4 separate regions of the Homo sapiens genome follow, and regions 2, 3 and 4 are each linked to region 1. Evidence: promoter capture Hi-C in 16 types of primary human blood cells and fetal thymus (Javierre and others, 2016). All regions are on one chromosome and are shown on one strand. Each heading gives the region's core, a stretch centred on a gene start or on the middle of the fragment in contact. The rest is flanking DNA. Distances are from core to core; before and after follow the strand shown.

Region 1 (3,508 bases), core at 981-3,480:
CTAAAGTACTGGGATTACAGCCGTAAGCCACAGCACCCAGCCCAAGATAATGGAGCTTAATTAAACTTAACTGAATTGTTTTAAGAAATATTTTTAAATGCAGAAAAAGAGAGTAGTATGATAAACATTCATTTTGCACCAAGAATAATTGACAATTGTTTTAAGTTAACATATTTATTTAAGTCTTTTGTTAATAACAAGATAGTCAAAGTTAAAGCATATTTTGATATGTATGGGGGTAAAGAAGGAAGGGAAGATATATTCAAAGTGTATATAAAATATACATGTAAATTCTAGAAAGTTTTTCAAACAGTGGGTGTTAGTCAGCACTGAAGTGTTGGAATGGAAATGTAAGTGGAGGTGGGATTGAAACAGGCTGTTGCTGTAACACTGTTTTTCTTAATCATAAGAATGATTTAATTTTATAGTTTCTCAAAATACCCAAGGGAGGAACATAAACTCCTATATATAACACGACTCTTTTTAAACATATATATCTATAAATGCTTGGGGTGTCAGGAAACACTGAAAATAAATTTACCAAAGAGTTATTTTAGCCATTCAGTACTTATTGCTGGGTGGTGGAATTATTGTTGACTTTGTTCTTAGTATACTTCTGCGTTTTCCAAATTATCTACCATAAGCAATTATATTCTGATTGTAAAATGCTACAGATGAAAAACTAGAAATAAACATTAAAATTATTTAAAAGGTTTAGTTCACTAACAATCCTGGTAATGTTGCATTGATACTAGGATACTCAAGACAACAGATTTGGTCACAACTAAAACTTTTTAGAGCTCTCCACTTACTCATTTCCAATTGTGTATGATCAATTTCTACGGTCTATTACATTCACAGCCGGTGCAATTGTAAATTGGTACCACCTTTCGGAAAGCAATTGGCTCTATATATCTTTAAAATCTTAAAGTTATTTAAAAAGCCTTATGCCCTTTACCCCAGAACTGTCGCTTTCCAAAAATTTTCCTAAAGGGGGAAATTCGAAATAAGAAAAACAATACACAGGTTGAGCACTGTAACTTATATATAATAAAGTTGGGGAAATTAGAGAAAGGTTAAATTACAGTGCATTTATTCAACAGAATACTCCGTCATTTGTAACAATGACTATGAAACAAAATAGAAAAATACTCACGTTAGGTTAAATGAAGAAAACATACCTATCTATGGTGGATCACAATATGAAAATTTAATACTTCTAGGTAGAAGAAGAGAAAGAGAATATGAAAAACTAAAAAGTCTTTAGGGGTAGGAGGACGTGAGCAGATCTCTAAATAACCTTGAGATCAATGGAAACAGTGTATAGATTTTTAGGTTCACTTATAAGCTGCTGATCTTATTTTAAGATCCTTCAGTATATGTTATCAAAAAGTGTTTGCTTTTCTTGCAAACGCCCATGTTTGGGAAATATGCAAGTTGAAGCCAATGCATTACTGTACTTTTTATAATGCACCTGAAGTTTTACTAGCTGTTCCAAGAGTGGTGTACTGAGTATTGATAAATCGTTTAAGTGGAGGCTCACATGAAATATTAACTATTACCCCAGGGCTTTAGAGCAACTGTGATCAATTCTGGCACAGCATCAGATCCATAATTTTCTTTGCTACTCTGATTTCTACGTTTTTTGTATTTTCAAAGTAATGTGACCGCAACTGTTAAGTTATTAAAATTGCTCCTGAGATGAGGGCACTCGAGACACAAACACACGGAGAGGTTCGTCCGCTATTCCTCTCATTTACTAAGCTCACACGTCTACCCTGAGGATTTGGAAACACTGTATGATTCTGCACTTACTGTGCACTTATCCCTTAGTGCTAAGGGGTAAACAGATACCCACCGGGCTGTCTAAGGCGCAGCCTCAAGGCAAGGAAGAAGGGTGCTGGGTCGCAGGGGATGAGAGGGCGGGGCGGCCACTTTGCTGCAGGAGATACCCAAAGCCAGTTAGCACTGAGGAAGTCAGAAGAGAATTGTCAGTCTCTCGGACACCTTCATTTTCTGCCCCGGAAATTTCTCCTCCGCTGTTGTCTGGGCTCCACTTCCGACCCCCAGTTGCTACCAGCTGTAGTCCGACCTATCGTGGCCCGGGCTAGTGCCAGCCTCCCGCCGCTACCTCCGCCTCGTCCCTTCTCCTCTGCGCCTGCGCGACCGGAAAATTCGCGAAGGTTCCTGAAACGCAACGGATCGTTTCCGGAAGCCGGTAGCCGCCTCAGTCGTCAGACCGGTGCTAGCGACACGGGAGTGGCAAACGCATCCTCTTGCCGTTCCCGGTGTTTGGGCCTTGCCTGTGACGGTGGGAAAAGAAAATGGCCTTGCTGTGCTACAACCGGGGCTGCGGTCAGCGCTTCGATCCTGAGACCAATTCCGACGGTAAGAGGAACGCGCCGCCAGCCCTCCCTCCCCTCCACCTCATCAGCAGGGGAGGCCCTTTGGGCCGGAGGGTGTCCGCGGATCTCCTGCAGCCGTCCTCGCGCGGCCCCAGGTCCATGCCCCTCCTGGGCCTCCCTTGGCTGCCCGCGCAGCCCGCCGGCCGCCCCTCTGTTGCGCCGCGTTCCCTTGGCGAGCGCCCGGCCCCGGCGCCTGACTGTCCTCTGCCACTGCGGAGAGAGACGCTCCCATGGATCCACGTGTTTCCCCCGTCGTCCCCGCACTCCTTTTAAGTCGCCTGGAATTTAGAACGAACACGTTTCTCCTCTGGCCCTCCAGTCTCTGGGGAAGCAAAAATTAACGAGGTACTGGTGAGCTTGCTTTGTAGTTCCCGAAGTAGTGATGGCTGTGATTGCCTGCGCGAGAGGGAGAGGTGGCCGGGATGAGCAGCGGGTTGTCCTAGCATGTAAGCTCTGCCTTGTAGAAGTTTGTGTTCAGTCGATCCGCTGTTACAAACCTCTTACAAGTGTTCTTGGTAAGGGACATTACTCTGTATCTTCACGCTGTTTTGATAGGTTCATCCTGGTGGTACGTTAGTTATCTTTTTATTACTAGCGGCATTTGTTGCTTGTTCTTCTTGTGGCCTCCACGTTTTACTACCATGCCTACTCCCGTATAAAATGAGTGAATGTCATCTACAGCACCTAGATGTCGAGTTAAGGATCCAAAGCGAAAATGACTATTAGGTGAAGGACGGGAAATGATCAGTGAATTGAAATTTTGATTGACAAAGAAGTGAGATGATTCCTTGCGTATCGTGAGAAGTGACAACACGTTTTCAGATTGAACTAGCATTTAGTTTATATTTTCTGCATGCCAGCCATTATTGCTTTATCTTATTTAATCTTCATAACCACCCTGGGACGCATGTAATGTTAATTAGACCCATTTGATAGAGAAGCTCAGTTCAATGAGGTTGTATTAATAACATCCTTCATTATTGTGGAGGAGATGAAAACTGATGCCTTTTGAACTCTTCACCTCTGAGATGTTTGAAATACTTATTTTTGGCACACAGGTAAATTGATAGCGTTATTTAAAATAAGACCATTGATACAGAGTT
Region 2 (3,664 bases), core at 805-3,304, 6.9 Mb after region 1:
TATAAAACAATCCAATTAAAAAATGAGCAAAGGACATGAACACACACTTCTCAAAAGAAGACATACAAATAGCCAACAAACATGAAAAAATCCTCAACACCACTGATCATTAGAGAAATGCAAATCAAAACTACAATGAGATGCCATCTCACACCCATCAGAATGGCAATTATTAAGAAAAAAAATTCACATATTGGTTAGGCTGTGAAGAAAAGGGAATGCTTATACTCTGTTGATGGGAATGCAAACTAGTTCAGCCACTATGGAAAGCAGTTTGGAGATTTCTCAAAGAACTTAAAATACAACTACCATTCAACCCAGCAATCCCACTACTGGGTATATACCCAAAGGAAAATAATTCATGCCATCAAAAAGACACAGAGCTGGGCACCGCAGCTCATGCCTGTAATCCCAGCACTTGGGAGGCCTAGGCGGGTGGATAGTTTGAGCCCAGGAGTTCTGGACCAGCCTGGGCAACATGGCAAGACCCCATCTCTACAAAACATGCAAAAATTAGCCAGTTGTGGTAGTGCACACCTGTAGTCACAGCTACTTGGAAGCCTGAGGCAGGAGGATCAGTTAAGCCCAGGAAGTTGAGGCTGCAGTGAGCCATGCACGACTGCACTCCAGCCTGAGTGACGCAGCAAAACCCTGCCTCAAGCCAAAAAAAAAAAAAAAAAAAAAAAGACACATGCAACCGTATGTTCATTGTAGTGCCATTCACGATAGCAAGGACATGAAATCAACCTAAGTGCCCATCAACAGTGGACTGGATAAAGAAAATGTGGTACATATACACCATGGAATATAATGCAGCCATAAAAATAAGGAAATTATACTCTTTGTAGCAACATGGATGGAACTGGAGCCATTATCCTATGCAACCTAATGCCAAGAACAGAAAACCAAATACACATGTTCTCACTTATAAGTAGGAGCTAAACATTGAATATATGATGGTAAACGTGGAAACAACAGGCATTGAGGATCATTAGATGAGGAAAGGGGGAGACGGACAGAGGGGCATGGGTTGAAAAAGCACCTGTTGAGTACTATGCTTACATCCTGTTGGGATCATTGGGACCCCTAACCTCGATATACCCTAAGGTTTTGCGTTTTGTATTTTGAAACTGGTAAGATCAAACTTTTTTCCCAATTTTTTTTTTTTTTTTTTAGATCGAGTCTCACTCTGTCGCCCAGGCTGGAGTGCAATGGTGTGATCTCGACTCACTGCAACCTCCGCCTCCAGGATTCAAGCGATTCTCCTACCTCAGCCTCCTGAGTAGCTGGGATTACAGGCATGTGCCACCACGCCCGGCTAATTTTGTATTTTTAATATAGACAGGGTTTCTCCACGTTGGTCAGGTTGGTCTCGAACTCCCGACCTCAGGTGATCTGCCCGCCTCGGCCTCCCAAAGTGCTGGAATTACAGGCATGAGCCACCACGCCCAGCCATCCCAGTGTTTTAAATAGCAATTTATATTTCCTCTTCATGAATTGTCTGTTAAAGCAGTTGTTGGCGGGAATCAAGTTTTGTTCTTTCAATGTGCTTCGGGCCTTAGAAATGGTGTTTGTTACTTAGTTGACTCTCACAAAGCTTTGAATACATATAGATAGAAACCTAGCCGTAATTGTTTAGAATCTTGAGAGAGTAAGCCACTAACACCGCACAACTGTGTGCCATTTTACAACTTACAGAGAATATTCATGAGTATTAGTGCATTTTAATACAACTACTGTGCATTGTTGCTTTCAGCATTTTACTATGCGGAGCAGTCTTGAGTAACTGAGGTCTGAGAAGGATAAATGGTGAAAATTCAAGGAATTTCTCCTAGAAACGGAGGAATTCGGCTTCCCTAAAGAAAGGACATACCGACTGAAATAGTTGGTCCTCCCGTGCACCAGAGGGTGAAGCAGCAGGATGTGACGCCTCACGAAAAGTGAGCGGCTTGCTGGACTACACTTCCCAGAAGGTTTCGTTGGCCCTCGCACTACGCAATCACCCAGAACGCTCAGCGGCCGAAAACTTCAGGTTCCAGGCTGCTGTGCGGCTAAATGCGACTCCATCTCCCCCGACCCAAGCGCGTAATGGCCGCTGGCTATCTTGGGGGAGCCAGCTGTTGGACTATGCCCCACTGCCAGGAAACAGGCGCCGGAAGGTTCTCTGACAAGATCTCGCTTTCCTAGGGCGGTGAAGGCGTTCAAAGGTCGGGAAGGGGCGCTGGGAGAAGCGGGGCAGCGCTGAGCCATGCTCGCGAACTGTGGGTCTGTCTGTGAAGAGACCCAGTTTCGTGGGACCACGGTGGCGCCTGCGCTGGGAGGTGAGCTTGTGACAGAGCGAAAACTACAATTCCCAGCATTCCTGTGGTGCCAGAACTACCTTGCCCGAAAGCCTGTGCGAGATTTACCCCGTCTTCCGCCTCCCTCCCACCGGAAAACTCTGAGGACATGAATAGTCGCCAGGCTTGGCGGCTCTTTCTCTCCCAAGGCAGAGGAGATCGTTGGGTTTCAAGGCCCCGCGGGCATTTCTCGCCGGCCCTGCGGAGAGGTGAGGCAAGGCGTCGTGTCATAGATGCCTGAGTGCTCTCTAGGGAGACGATGCCCGTGGGGTCGCGCCTGCTCGAGCGAACGGGAAGAGAAGGTGCCACGCCCTCCTCCCGGATTCACGCCTTGTGCTGGGCGACGCCGCTGCCTGCTGCCCCGACTTGCCCAGCTCGCCCCAAGGGGCGAGGACTGAGGAAAGCACTGCCTTTCTGTTCTTAAAGCGAACCTTTGAAGGCCTGGGCTTCGCGCCCGGCTTCTTTCTCAGCCGTTGTTTCCGTTTTTTGGTGACAAGAGGCTAGTAATCTCGTCAGGAGCCAACGTAAGGTAATCTGTGTTTGAGGGTGTCCTGTTTTCTTTTGTGGCCTGATCAAATTTTGATTTTGTTTTTTTAGGTGCTGGCCTCGAGCCCAGGTTTTTGGTAGACAGCATCATAAATTTCAGGCCACGTCTGCCTTATTCTCACTGGAATTCTCAGTACATTTCAGTCACATTGTAGACTTTGGGAAAATAAGTGAATACTGGAACCCACAAGTTTCCAACCTGTTGGCACCCCTGTTAACAGGGTGTCCTGAAGACATCTAACTTTATTCAGAGAAATGTTTCTAGGGCTAGGTTTTTGTTGTCGTCGTTGTTTTTCACCCCCAGTTTTTTAACTTCCCTCCCAGTTTTTAAACCGTTTTAAGGTTGTCCACAAAATAGGCGAATAGGCACCTCTTATCTCTGTTCACCTTCTTGAATCTTCAGTGCCAGGTACGCTGAGCCATTCGGTACCCAAACACTTCTACGCTGTTATTTATACTCCATATTGTTACTTGTGCTATTTTGCTCATTGTTTCATTTTAATCCACACCAGTAACAGCTGCAGTCAAAACTGCAGTTGTTGATCCTCCATCTGTGAGATTGCTGTTTAGCTGCCAGGGTCATTCACAAGGTCTCTTTTGTTAGGTATTTGAGTGTTTAGCATACATACACATTATGATGGATTTTACAAAAAGGAGGTAGCACTTTTGAACTCCAGGAAGTCATCCAGCTGCCATCTTTGTTGACTTTTACATATCCAAATGAAAACAAAATTAAATGTTCTTAGAGAATGAACTTTGAAGTGTATATCATACTGGGA
Region 3 (3,816 bases), core at 1,317-3,816, 5.6 Mb before region 1:
CTCATTTTGCTCATTTGAAAAAGGAAATATTAATGCCAATCTCAGAAGGTTATTGTGAGGATTAAATGAGTTAATGCATGAAAAGGGTCTTTAAGGATTATGCCTTGCCAGGTAGTCCTATATAAATACCATACATTATAATCTTAAAATACGTGGTAGTGGGTGGGTGTGGGAAGGAGAAAGAAGACACAGAGGAACATGAAGGTATTCATTTTATTATTCTCAAAAAGTAAATCTTATATTTAATATTATAAAATGTATGATAGCCATAAAACATTTTTAAGGGAAATTAATATGGAGCTACTGTGCAGCTTGGTCGAAGGACCAAAAGTCAGAGGGACAAATCAAGAGATTAGGTCATTAATCACCAAGGTTATTGTGAAAATATTACAAGGCTGACATGAAAGACATTCTTGTGTATTTCAACACAATGCTGCCCATACCTCCATATGGAATTAATTTCATTATGCCCAATCATAGTTGCTTTCCTGCCTTTTCCACCAGTCGAAGTTTATCAATTCCAGAGCAATCACTCAATAAACGTTACCTAGAACCTAACTGAAACCTATCGCCCTACTTCCATGCTGTTCACATTTGAGATTTACATGGTCACTGCTTCCCAAAGACGGTTATTTATGAATCTACTTGTTAAAAATCTTTGCCTGTAAAGCATCTCAATGTACTTATAACTAGCTCCGTATGAGTTTATCAATGTCGAAAACAGTTGAATATAACAGTTGTTAATCTTCATAACCGTGAAATCTGAATACGAGTTGTGTTCTCAGTTCATGGTATAGTTTTAACAAGTTTTTTTTTTTTTAAATGTTGCCTACTGTTAAGATCAGCTGTTTGATAAGCTAAGTGCTTTTCCAACGCTGTTGGAAATGGCAGCCTTATTTCTGATGGGACATCTAAGCAGGACGTTTTCTTACGCACCAAGAAACCAACTAAATTTAGTCATTTTTGTTTTGAGAAACAGTAACTTCCAAAATAGACATTTTGATGTAGCAGATTGAGTTATGGTTGTTATACTTTGATTTGTGGAGGTTCCTAGATATTCTTAGTGTACCCTTGATATTTAGAATCCTATTAAAGCTGAGCTTAGCACAAAAAAAATATGCTTTCCTAATGAACAGTCTTTGGTATTTCTGTCAAGGGTACCGTATAAGTATTAACAGCTGACTATATCCCAGTGCCAATGCTCACCTAGGTGTCCTTGGCATAGTGCAGCTCAATTAAACGTTTATTTAATATTTTATTTTATGGAGACAGGGTCGCTCTGTCGCCCAGGCTGGAGAGCAGTGGCACTATCATACCTCACTTCAGCCTCAGTGATCCTCCCGCCTCAGCCTCACTAGTAGCTGGTATTACAGGCATGAGCCACGCACCCAGACTCAATTCAACATTTGTAAGAGTATTCCTTGTTCGGTCTCCAAGTGCTTAACTTTTGAGAGCCGTGAAAAGCCCTCTTCTCCCAAGTTTAATCACATCTCCTATAAAATCTCATCCATCTGCTGACACTTCCAATAGTTTTTTACTTTTTTCTTTTACTGACCTAATCCTGAATAACCTTAAATTGCTGCTTTCCTTACTTCTCCTTAACTTCCCCAGACCTCTCTGCAAACTTCTAATTCCCATTCGGCTGAAACACTGTAATACTTCTAGTCCCATTATTACAAATTCTAACAAGTCTCCAAAAGCTGAAACTGACTTCTCCAAGGTGACCAGGCTTTCTTAGCGTTTCCAACTCTTTCCCCCTAGATCCTAGAAAATAACTTTACCCTGATACTCTTCTAGTTCCTTCCCTCACCATCCTTCTTTTTTCACGTTTTTACCTACGTTTCCAATTCACCTCATCCAGCTCTACCTCCGTATTACTTCTTCTCATTCCGAACTATCTCAAGTTTCCTAAAAGCACCTACTGTTCTAGCACATACTCCAAAATTCCCGCACTGCCTTTTTCTCCTTTCTCTACTCTTGGGACAAGCAATCACAATTCCTTCGACACGCAACTAGCTCCATCTTCCCTTCTAGGAAACCTTCTCTAGCCTACCCAAGCACTGTTAATCACTCCCCTCTAGATTATTCTACTACGGTAGCACTTCCTAAACTATACTGCGCAGTAATCACTAATTACGTGTAGTTTCTCTTCAGTGTTTTTCTCCTTCAAAGCAGGGTTTCTATTCTGTTCATTTGGACCCTAACAGTATACCAGGCATCGAACATTTGCTAACTGGAGAAATAAGAGCTCCAACATTTACTTCCTATCAAAGCTTTCCAATGCCGCGGTTTTCAAAAACCTAAGCATTCGACACTCCAATTTGAGAAATACCAGTGAATACCAGTAACTAAACTGGATGGTGACATTTGATGAGGCGAAAACAATATTTAAAATCAATTCCCCCTGTCGCCTCTCCAAAAGGGCATTTCCACATTGAAGTTCCAGTAATTCTAGGTGACAGGAAGCGCGCGTTCTGGCTACGAGCATCACACAACGAAGTTAATGTGGATGGGAGTGGGAGGCACTGCAGGGATAGGAAACAGCATAAGCAACGACTAGTAAGCGCTCGAGAGACGGCGGACTACTATTCTGCAACGTCTCTTAAACACACTGGCGCGCCTCACCTGATCTGGCGAGTTTCCTAGAGGGGCCGCTGAACCCACGTGACCAAAAGAGCTACATTTTTGCAGGCCAGGGAGTGGGCAGTTATCCCAGCCGGCCCTTGGGAATGTTAGGCAACCGGGGTTGGTTGCTACGCCAAAAGGTGAATAAGGGCTGGGGAACAGGGGCGGCCAGCCCAGTTTCACTGGGAGCCAGAGGGTGCAGCTTCGACACAGCCACAGTGAATGGAAGCTTGGGGAGCGCGGGGCAATCTAGGCATTCCCGCCGACCTCCAGAATTGCGTCAGAAGCTGGACTGACAGCGCCCTGAAACGTGAGGAAACTCAAAGAGGCGCTTAGGGCCGACGTGGGGCCCACTCGCGCCAACTGCTTCTTACCGACAAGTGAGAACCAGAAGCCGCAGAGACAGACGCCGCCGCCATCTTTCAGCCTGCCCAGGGGGTCTCCGCACTTCGGGGGCGGTCTAGGTTCTCGTGCTCTTCTCCAAGACTCGGGAGCCGCCCACCAGCGGGGACCCTAGGCTGAACCCCTGATGGAAAAGGGCAAGGGTGCTGGTGCTGGGCTTGGAAACCCCTGCAACACACCCCCTCAGGGCCGCCTACGCTCACAGCTTACACAGAAAGGGCAACACGTCCTAACGGACGTCTTTCCTAGCCAATCAAAACAGCAGACGTCTTTCTGTAGTAGGAGAGAATCCGCCTCTTCCCTGGTGACGTCACAAGGTAGCGCGTAACGGGGCCCGCTGGGGCAGACAACGCCGGGGTTACAGGCCGGCTCTGCGGGGATTCTACGGAGGGTCGGGCCTCCTCCAGTAAGAAGCGTGGGCGAGTAGTGGTGTCGCCAGTGGCAACTGAAGGGAGTAATGGAGATAAAACAAAAGCGAAGGCGAAGTTAAAGCACTCCACGAGTTCCCTCGGATTAAACGCCGGAGAGAGCGTGAATTTGCCTCGGGGACGCCTCTCCAGGTGAAGTATTTACCTTTTGGCCAATAACAAATAGGATTAGGAGGGACTTAACGATTTAGTCCAATAGAAAGCAAGGGAAAAAAAGTTGCGGCAGAGAACGAGCCTTTCGCGAACATTTGCTCAATTGGATTGGGGCGCTCTCAGCCAAACCTGGGACTGGCTGTTAGAAATAGCCGCGACCGCAGACCTTTGGGCGGGGCAGGTTCAAAGCGGATTTCGCGCGCTGAGA
Region 4 (3,612 bases), core at 1,113-3,612, 6.2 Mb before region 1:
AAGAGTTTGTCACAAACACAATGAGCAGAACAATAAAATTGAAATGACATTATTGACTTGACTTTGTCATCTTCTGTTTATTTCTGATGGTGGCTCGAAGTTTACGTATTACCAGTCTATCAGGTAGAATCATATCACCTTGTTGTTCTAGATAATCCAATAAATTTTCAGTCCACTGGAGGGCAGCTGCATGATTAATATGTTTCTCTGGAATTAGTTCTATTTCCTCCTCCTCATTTTCACTGGATTCATCTGCCTGGCCTTGTGCTCTTCTGATGATTTCGCTATCAGTTAACACTTCATAGCCTGGTTCAGTACTGTCTACTTCAAGCCATTTTTCAAGGTTCTCAGTAGTCACATTTTCCAATCCTTTGGTGTGTTGTAAAATGGCAGCCACAGTAGCCACAGAAATATCTTCAACATCAAAGTCCAGGCTCTCTTTCTCCTCTACCATAGGGAGAATCTTCTTCCATGCTCTGCTAATGGTAACTGGTTTTACTAAGTTCCATGCCATTGCTATTTCATAAAGTGCATCCAACAGAGTTAGCTTCTTCCAGAATGATTTCAGGTCATTACCTTCTTCCAAGTTGTTCTGGAGAAGACCTGCACGATAATTTCTCTTCATCGTTGCTATGACTCCCTGATCTGAAGGCTGAATCAATGAGGCCACATTAGGTGGTAAATATTTAGCAAATATTTGGCCATCATCTGACCTTAGGACATTTTCATTTGGATGTGTTGGTGAATTATCCAACAAGAGCACAGCCTTTTCCTGCAAGCCTTTAGATCTTAAATACTCTCGAACTTGCGGCACAAAAATTTTATCAAACCATTGTCGGAAAATGGAAAGATCCATCCATGCACCTTTTTGGCTGAAATAAGAGACTGGCAGGTTTAAGGTGTCAGTTGATTTAAAGGAGCGAGGTTTCTTTGCTTTCCCCACAACACAAAGTTTAAGTTTGTGTAAACCTGTTGCATTGGCACAACACATGATTGTGACTCTTTCTTCAATTGATTTGTGCCCAGGGACAGTGCATTTACCTTTGATTACTGAAATCCTAGAAGGCAAGCACTTCCAAAAGAGTCCAGTTTCATCTGCATTGTAGATTTGTTCAGGCTGTAAATTCTCTCGTTCAATAAAATCTCGAAAGTTATTACAAAAATCTTCCACCGCAGTCTCATCTCCATTTAATCTTTCATTTCTAATGTTAATCTCTCTAATGCTGTGCCGCTGCTTAAAACGAGTTAGCCAACCGGCAGAGGGGTTAAAATCACCATCCATTCCCAAAGCATAAAAGAAGAACTCTGCCCTTTTTGCACAAATTGGTCCAGATATGGGATTCCCTTTTGCTCTTTGCTGGTTGAACCATTCCAGCATTGCCCTGTCCAATTCCTCATACATGGATGGCTTCATAGATTTCCTCTTGGCCAAAAGACTTGTGGAATCAGAACTGCTTGCATAAGTTATAATCTTTTCCTTATTTTTTCTTATATCCCGAACTGTTGTTTCACCAATTCCATAAATCACTGCCAGTTGTTTGGAAGAACCTCCGTCTTCAAGTTTCTTTATTATATCAAGCTTATCTTTAATAGTCAACACCACACGCTTCCGTTTCCCTGACATAGCGAGGTTCTGGGACTCACCCCACACTCACAATGTAGCAATCCACAAAATCCTTCCTTCTCTTACACAGGCTCACTTCAACAGTCTTAACACACTCAGTCTTTCATCCTTACCAGCAACCTGGTGGCCCTGATCCCCTCCCGGGCTGGGGTTGGCTGGCAAATAGACTGCAGAAGAAGGTGAAAGAGGAGGAAGTTTGAGAGAACAGGCCTTTCTTTAACTTATACGGGCAGTAGCGGAGGCCCCATGTCACCGCGGATAATCCGGATTAAAAGCATGTGTTTTATTACCCCAGCAGCCGTGAGAAAGACTATACCCCCATTGTGGCCACGAACCTCCTGCACGTCCAGATCCCGGGTAACCGCGCGTCACTAACCCCTGCCACACCCCAAAGTTACGACAGAGAGCCGAAGAGCCTAGGAGTCAAGGACTGGCACCCTTCCTCAGGGGAACGGATATATTAGATTCCTTCCCCAGCAGCAGGGCCCTCCCGCCGCGCAGCCCCAGTTTCCCGCGCCAGCTTTAGCCGGGACAGTCCTCCCAGTCCCTCAAAACCCGCCAGGCCCCTCTCCCCACCTCTCTTGCAACCAGGACCCGCACAGCTCCCTGACTATCGCGCGGCAGTCGCTCCGCCCCTAGCCACGCTCCCGGAAGATGATCCCTCCCGCCGCCTGGCCCCACCCCTCGCCCCACCCAGAGGCGGGACTTCCCTTGGTCCCCGGAAGGGGGGGAGGAGCATCGCTTGTCCTGAGCTGGTTGCCGGGGCAGGGGCGGAGGCGGAGGCAGAGGTGGAGGCGCTTTGAAAGGTGAGAGCGCGAGGGCGGTGCGGGGCTGTCTCCCGGCTGGGACTCGCTCGCGCTCCCGGTGCTAATGGTTTATGAGAGGGGCGGGGGAAGCCGTGCCTCCTCGCGGACTAAGAGAAAAATTCCCGCGGGCGCTCTTTGGGTGGGCCGGAGAACGCCCCTCAGCCCTTTGCGCCTCTAACCCTCCTCAGCTGAGCTGCAGTGGGCGCGGTGCCCGTTATTTCCGCCTTGGGGAGGTGCTTGGAACTGATGTAGGGAGCTCGGTTGGTGATTTCTCGGGTTTCTGGCCTTTCCAGACCCTTGTAATTGTTTTCTCGGTGCAGAGCTCTTTTGGGGTCTGGGGGTTTCCGTCGTCCTGCGCGCGTCATCGCGAAGCTTGGCCTGAGGGTCCGGTTTCCTAGCTACTGTGCCCCTCCCTCCTGGAGGCAGAGTGACGGACTAGTGGGCTAGCGGGCGCTGGGTTCCTGCGTCCCGCCAAAGAGGTTTGTAATCATGAAAGTCACCCTTCCGGGTGTTAATTCCTGAGAGGATCTATTCCACTGTCTACCACTCATTCCTGCTGCATTAACCTTCATTGTTAACGGATTTTAATGAATAATATAGTTATCCCGGATACCATGCTGGCAGGATCCACTTTGCGAAATTGTGGACTGTTGGACTGTGATTCTAAGTGGGGGAAATAGGCTTTCCTCTCTTTATGTTTATTTTCTTATATCCTATTTCTGTCATGTTCTGTCTTGTTTTCCTGCCAATAGAAGAACTATGATAAATTTATTCATAGCAGTGTGATAAGAACTTGATCTTAATCATACACTGTAGCCCTCAAATCGTGTATTATGCTGGCTTGTTTTTGGTGTCCCTAGTAATTTCATCAGATTGTGAGCTCCTTGGGAGCAGAGACCATGTTTATTTGAAATGGTGGCAGCACAGTTCCTAGCAGGTGCTTGCATTTTGGTAGATATTCAATAATTATTTTTCGGCTTATTAATCTTTGCTCTCCAAACTGCCATATAAAAGAAAACATCGAAGAGGAGTGATGTTTTACACCCAAGAATGGATCCCTCCTGGTAGAATTTCAAATAATGACCTGGGGTTCCACTGCCTTTCAAATCTGTAAAGTGTTAACTACCACCTGCATTGTTTATACAGCAAGTAGGTGATTTCTAGAATGAATCTTTTCTTGAG

The links. The method cuts DNA at HindIII sites, captures the fragments that hold promoters and counts their contacts. A CHiCAGO score of 5 or more calls a contact.
Region 2: a contact is called between the fragment with the promoter of CCDC90B here and the fragment with the promoter of CHORDC1 in region 1, in 1 of 17 cell types (non-activated CD4 T cells). The highest score is 6.3, in non-activated CD4 T cells.
Region 3: a contact is called between a fragment that was not itself captured here and the fragment with the promoter of CHORDC1 in region 1, in 1 of 17 cell types (non-activated CD4 T cells). The highest score is 5.3, in non-activated CD4 T cells.
Region 4: the fragment with the promoter of CCDC82 here is called in contact with the fragment with the promoter of CHORDC1 in region 1 in 2 of 17 cell types (fetal thymus and total CD8 T cells); the score reaches 7.0 in fetal thymus.

What each region holds. Positions count from the first base shown.
Region 1 is chr11:90,221,771-90,225,278 of GRCh38, reverse strand. CHORDC1 (cysteine and histidine rich domain containing 1) reads left to right here and starts at 2,230. Exons shown (of 11, transcript NM_012124.3): 1 at 2,230-2,388. The coding sequence starts at 2,325. LOC124902812 (a long non-coding RNA gene) reads right to left here and starts at 2,120. Exons shown (of 2, transcript XR_007062978.1): 1 at 1,859-2,120. The HindIII fragment of the contact is 11,072 bases long and covers 1-3,508 here.
Region 2 is chr11:83,284,757-83,288,420 of GRCh38, reverse strand. CCDC90B (coiled-coil domain containing 90B) reads left to right here and starts at 2,054. Exons shown (of 9, transcript NM_021825.5): 1 at 2,054-2,548. The coding sequence starts at 2,449. It overlaps CCDC90B-AS1 (CCDC90B antisense RNA 1), which reads right to left and starts at 2,301. Exons shown (of 3, transcript NR_186344.1): 1 at 1,874-2,301. RefSeq lists enhancers at 2,017-2,666, 2,089-2,684, 2,717-2,796, 2,685-3,281. The HindIII fragment of the contact is 4,800 bases long and covers 1,600-3,664 here.
Region 3 is chr11:95,789,927-95,793,742 of GRCh38, reverse strand. It overlaps CEP57 (centrosomal protein 57), which reads right to left and starts at 3,245. Exons shown (of 11, transcript NM_014679.5): 1 at 3,000-3,245. The coding sequence starts at 3,044. RefSeq lists enhancers at 2,337-3,000, 2,964-3,433. The HindIII fragment of the contact is 581 bases long and covers 2,276-2,856 here.
Region 4 is chr11:96,388,662-96,392,273 of GRCh38, reverse strand. CCDC82 (coiled-coil domain containing 82) reads left to right here and starts at 2,362. Exons shown (of 10, transcript NM_024725.4): 1 at 2,362-2,430. It overlaps JRKL (JRK like), which reads right to left and starts at 2,261. Exons shown (of 2, transcript NM_001261833.2): 1 at 2,201-2,261; 2 at 1-1,791. The coding sequence starts at 1,624. The coding sequence ends at 50. RefSeq lists a silencer at 2,189-2,448. The HindIII fragment of the contact is 1,223 bases long and covers 1,582-2,804 here.